2 separate regions of the Homo sapiens genome follow, and region 1 is linked to region 2. Evidence: promoter capture Hi-C in human tissues and cell types (Jung and others, 2019). All regions are on one chromosome and are shown on one strand. Each heading gives the region's core, a stretch centred on a gene start or on the middle of the fragment in contact. The rest is flanking DNA. Distances are from core to core; before and after follow the strand shown. Region 1 overlaps DNAH5 (dynein axonemal heavy chain 5). Region 2 holds the start of DNAH5 (dynein axonemal heavy chain 5).

Region 1 (3,004 bases), core at 380-2,879, 59 kb before region 2:
GATATGGCCAAGTGCGGTGGCTCACGCCTGTAATCCCAACACTTTGGGAGGCCGGGGCGGGCGGATCACCTGAGCTCAGGAGTTCGCCACCAGCGTGCCCAACATAGTGAAACCCTGTCTCTACTAAAATACAAAAAATTAGCCAGGCGTGGCGGCGTGCGCCTATAGTCCCAGCTACTTGGGAGGCTAAGCTGGAGAATCACTTGAACCCAGGAGATGAAGGTTGCAGTGAGCTGAGATCGTGCCGCTACCCTCCAACCTGGTCGACAGGGCGAGACTCCATCTCAAAAAATAAAAATTTAAAAAAAGATGAATATTTTTAATTATTTAAATTTAACAGGAATGTACATGCACGTGCACACGTGCACACACACACACACACACATACCCCAGCAACTATGCCTGATCATCCACTAAGCAAACCACACAAGATTATTACCCCGGAAGTTAATTGTGTGAGAGGAATGAATACGTTTGCGAATGGCCTCTAGTGTATTCCTTGTAACTTTCAGAAGAGCATCCATGTTCTGATGGTTGAAATGAGAGAGTAACTCGCGGGCTTCTTCCCCTAACATCTCAGTTTCTTTCTTTTTCCTCGTGACTGTCGTCAAAAGCAGGGCATTGGCCCTGGCATTAATAGATGATGTCAAGGTGTCAAAATTTCCTTCTTCTCTTTTTGCTGTTACAAGATGAAAGAGATAGAGATAGAGATAAGTTAGATGGATGGATGGATAGATAGACAGATAGATAGACAGATAGATAGAATCATCTGTTGCAATTAAAGGATAAATTACATGCAAGTTTAGTATCACTTAAACATCACACTTCTTAGGAAGTGAGGACATCAAAAAGTAGGAGGAAATCAGGAACCAGAGGGACTGATGGAAGCATCTCCTTCTCAATACAAGAAAACAGCCAACAAGAGAGGCAGGAGCTATGGCTGGAAAAGCTACAGTGGCCCCCAAGGACCTGGGTTCTGGTGCTACCTCCCACCAATAACCCTAAAACTTTGGGGGGATAATTTCCCTTCTTCACATCCACATCTCTCTGTTCTCCTCTGTCCTGCAAAAGGTGCGCTCAGTCTAGAGGCTCTCCAAGGGGAATTCCAGTCAATAATCCATCCAACTCTATTGATAAGGTAAAATAAAACACCCACCCACACATAAATGCAAAGAAAGCTAACCAGGGCCAATGCAAAGTGCATGTTTGCAAAGTTTAACCAAAAATAGTAGGAATTAACAACATAGAGTCACTAAAATATGCTCAGGGCCATAATTTCAGATTTATACATATCATTAGAAAATCGAGAGGATGTTTATAGAAGTATGAAATTAATTGGTATGTAGAAAATGCAGTTTTAGTTTTTAGTAAATGTCATAGAAAAACAAGACCCTTTCATTACCCCATCTCTTACCTGAACTTTCATTTTTGTAATTAACACTATTCTCATTGGATATTTTTTCACTTTCTTCTTCAGATAAAACTTCCACATCCAGCAACATATTTACAAGCTCATTGACTGCCTCCTCCACTAATGAGCTTTTAAAATGTAGTATTTGTGCACCATTTACACAAAGATCCTAACCAAAAAAAAAAAAAAAAAAAGATAGCACAGTGGTATATGGTTTATCTAGCTTTTGAGAGCACAGAAACAGTGGTAGCAATGCTGTGGCTCAGCCTCCAGGTGAGATTTCAGCCCCAGTGATGCTTGGCCACATCCTTCACAATAGCACAGGCCAGGTGTCCTCTAAAGGAATGTGTTTAGGACAAGAGAACCCACTGGATCAGTGTAGATGGACCAAAATTACAGGCACTTCTCCACCAGTAGAGAAAATATCTTCAAAAGCCATCAGCAGCCTCTCTACTCGTCACATTTCCTTCATATCACATAAATCGGATCCAGCCACCCTTCTTTCTCTCCTTGTTTTTGCCAACAAACCATAGTCATCCCCTCATTAATTTCAAAGACACTACCCACCCTTCTAACTATATTGTGCATTTCTCAAGAATGGATTTAATAAATATAAACTAACATGATTTGAGGCATGGTGATCAATTCTGGAGGAGATTAGGTAGACAGATAGTTATAGATGGATGATATAGACAGAATCAGTGATTTACCACCTGGTTGGAAAGTAAGCCCATGAAACAACAGACTGTCAGTTAGGCACAGTGTCCAGCTCCATTCCAAGTTCCAGCATTATACATCTTTAAACTTATACGGCTTGAAAACTAGGATTCAAATCCTTGCTCTGCATGATCCTGAAAATTCTTTTCAGTCTCAATTCCCTCATATGTATAATGGTGATATAGTAGAACTCACTGTAGTTTTTGCAAGTATTCCATAAAATAAATGCAAGTAAAATACTAAGAGCAGTGCCTGGCATAAAGTAAGCACACAAGAAGTGCTTGTTATTATTATTGGTTGGAAAATCACAAACATCCACAGGACCTAAATATTTGCAAAGGTTAGTCAACTCATTCCATGTAAACTAACTCCTCAATTCTCTGAGAGAACACTAATATTTTTTAAAGTCTGAATCTTAAGTCCTCTGACTCTACCTTGGAGAGAAACACACATGTGGTCTCCATTTTCAGGGCCAGCTCTCACAGGGAATCCTCAATTAACTTGCAGCTCTTTCAGTCCTCTCAGTAACACAAGCACATGTTTGAGATCATAAAATTCCTTTGTATTGAGGGTTCTAGAAGATGAGATTGATAACCTCTCAAAGACTAATATAGTTCCAACAACGTTGTTTACATCTCTTAACTCTTTCTCTCTGTGAGAAGGCATAACCATAAAAATGTAAATAGCATAGAAATTAACAAAGCAGAATATAAACGCAATGAGGAAAAAGAAGTAATAAATAGACTCATTAAAATATCCCCCAGGACAAATAAAATAAATGAAAGATGCTGCCTCCACTTATCCTGCTTCATTTCAACAACTAACCTCCATGATGACACCCAAAAGCTGAAACCCACCAAAAGGGCCTTTCTTTCA
Region 2 (2,933 bases), core at 81-2,580:
GATGTGACAAGGACTCTATAAGACATCGAAGGAAAGTGCTGACAGGGTACAGGAAGGAAACTCACACCTCCTCCTCAAAGTGTCAGGGGACGCTTCTCAGAGGAGGTAACACTAGCACTTGGTCTTGAAGAATAAGCAGTGCATGGACTGGCTGGAGTCAGCTCTTCCAGAATGGTCTTCTAACTCTAGCAAGCAAGTTCAGGGGCTTGGCTGCAAGACGTTCACCTTGGGAAGGATGCATCAGAATCTTGTGGCTTGGGCAAGTGAGGGGTGGCAGATGGTGGCATACTTAAAAAATTCAGAGGTAGATGCCTGCTCTTTTGTGGTAAAAACAACAGGCTAGGGGGGATCATGTGAGCTTCTGGGGATACACAAAAAGACACAGTGATCAAGCCCAGTAGGAAGCATGGGTTAATGGTTGAGAACTGAGTCCTAGAGAAACCTCCAATTTCTTCTGACGTTAATTGGCAGTGGAAGAGGTTTCCAAATCCCTCTCTATGCATTTGCATAATAAAAAGCTGCTGAGCTGAGCCCTGTGCTAGGGAAGTTCATTCTTCAATGTGATTTCCAAAGGCACAGCCTTGCATCTCACTGTCTGTGACCTCATTTGCAGGCATATAGAACAGGGGAGTGATTTCAAAGCCTAAACCTTGCAGCCTAGAATCTGCCTTAACTATTTCTAATCACCAACTAAAGTTTACAGGTTTGAAAGAATACAAAGTGCCCAAACCACTATGAATGTGTTTTTGACCCCAGGAAAGCATCTTCCCAAAAGATGCAGCATGAATTTCTAGGTGCGTAGTTTAAGCGGCAACGTGCAGAAAAGCCTACAGATGCAAAATTTTTTTTATTTAAAAAATGAATATGTAGCCTATGCACCAGGTGAACATTAGTTAAAAAATGTGTTTCTCGCAAATTCATCAGTGTGTGACTTTGAACCTTTTTCAAGTTTGTTTTTTCCACCCAGGTGTGACAGATGATAATCCAAAACACACATGCAAAGGTACAGACAACAGCACCTTACCGTTAAAACTCGAGTGACGCTATGCTTCCAGAGCTGTCTCCTCCCAATCCTAAACATTGTAGCCGTGCATGGACAGGCTGGAGTCAGCTCTTCCGGAATGGTCTTCTAACTCCTGGCAGACCTGCTCAACATCCAACAGGCTTCCAAATGGAAAGTTTTACTTCCATTTTACTTTCACGTTTCTAATTTGCATGTATTATTCACTACATTCACAGAATAAAAATTAAAACTCCACTTATACCACTCAAGTTTTTCTCCTAGAGTGTCTGCCCTGGGCCTCTCCTCTCTCTCGAAGCCTGGTGTTGTTAGGGTAATATTGTTTATACACTATACAGTTGAACCATGCCTCTTAATCATGTTTATCAAGCAATCAAAGCATTTTAACTGCTCGGTAGCAACACAACTCCTTCTGTTGTTCAATTAATTCTATTCACTGCCCAATAATAAGCATTGAGTCAACAGTGATATCTAAATAGTTTCTTTGAACAATGAGAAACTTTAAACCATATCAGATTAGAAATCCAAGAAGCCACAGCTCTGAATATATTGTCCATGTCGAGAAACTCAGTCTTACTTTGTGTAAACAACTTTGCAAGCACGATGCACTGCCAGCATTGTGACTAATTGTGACTAATTGCCAGATAGGCTAATTGTGACCCATAGGAGCCATTTTCTCCACCACAAAGAACAAGAAGTCTGTTTCATATGCAAATAGCAAACCATGTCCATAAATTACTTGTGCTCACACAGTTGCACATACACTTCAGCCAAGGTAATTTATCCTATGTGGCTAAACATCTTGATCATCTTAACTGTGAAGATGTAATGGGAAAACACTGCCAAATGCTTTGAGAGATCTCTCATGTATGGTTTCTCCCATCGAGTTGAATAAAAGGCAGGACACTTAAGGTTGGTCTTGTTGAATCTAGAATTTAGTCCTTGGAATTCACAGTCCAGCAACTCAAATCCTAAAAGGTCATCCAAGGATAATCAGGAAATTGGGAACTCATCCTGGTAACATCCTGCTAGTCAACCTCTGTGGAGCCTGACTTGGAAGGCAGGGTGCTGACATGGTTTCAGAACATGGAGATTCACTTGGTCCATATCCAATGCTAGGGCACGGACGGCCTCCATATGTCAGGTTAACAGACAACATTTAGACCTCAATATTATTTGGTAAGTAAATAACTAGAACACAGGAAGTTTAAGTTTGTTTGCAGGATTTTTTTTTTCTTTTTTGAGACCTGCAGGTCTCACTCTGTCACACAGGCTGGAGTGCAGTTGCGTGACCACCACTCACCACAGCCTCAACCTCCCAGGCTCAGGTGATCCTCCCACCTCAGCCTTCCTAGTAACTGGGACTACAGGCAAGTGTCACAACACGCGGCTAATTTTTGTATTTTTTGTAGAAACAGGTTTGGCCACATTGCCCAGGCTGGTCTCAAACTCCTGGCCTCAAGCAATTGCCCACCTCGGCCTCCCAAAGTGCTGGGATTATACGCATGAGCCACCAGGCCAGGCCCTGCAGGATATTTGTTGAAGTCAACCTCTGGTTGTTGGTAAGCGGCTGTTGTCCGTTTCTAATAAAAAGTGTTGAAGACAGTATCTAGACTCTGAGTCCCTTCTCTGTGTGGTGCTGAAGACACCAGAAAATAGCAGTAGGATCGGATCCTCCTCACATGGCATCTCCTATCCATCCCAAGAATCCTCTGTCAACACATGACCTCAGGACAAACATGTTACAATTCATTACATCGCCGATTATCTTTCATTAGTTACATTTGAATCGGTGCTTCCCTAATGGTATTTTAGGCACCATCCTCATTGCAGCAGCAGCCCATTTACAACGCATCGCTTGGGGAGAGTTACTTCCTGGGAAGATTTCCACAGATGGCTGATGGCATGCATT

Evidence for each region. Contacts are between HindIII fragments. The study calls those that stand out against the background at their distance.
Region 1: a fragment that was not itself captured here is called in contact with the fragment with the promoter of DNAH5 in region 2 in 1 of the 25 tissues and cell types used here (hippocampus).

Annotation. Positions count from the first base shown.
Region 1 is chr5:13,884,550-13,887,553 of GRCh38, forward strand. DNAH5 (dynein axonemal heavy chain 5) reads right to left here. Exons shown (of 79, transcript NM_001369.3): 18 at 1,415-1,580; 19 at 440-679. All of the region lies in intron 1 of DNAH5-AS1 (DNAH5 antisense RNA 1), which reads left to right. Among named protein-coding and RNA genes, the nearest start is that of DNAH5-AS1, 26 kb to the left of the region's middle. The HindIII fragment of the contact is 6,258 bases long and covers 1-3,004 here.
Region 2 is chr5:13,943,358-13,946,290 of GRCh38, forward strand. DNAH5 (dynein axonemal heavy chain 5) reads right to left here and starts at 1,331. Exons shown (of 79, transcript NM_001369.3): 1 at 1,025-1,331. The coding sequence starts at 1,081. The HindIII fragment of the contact is 17,200 bases long and covers 1-2,933 here.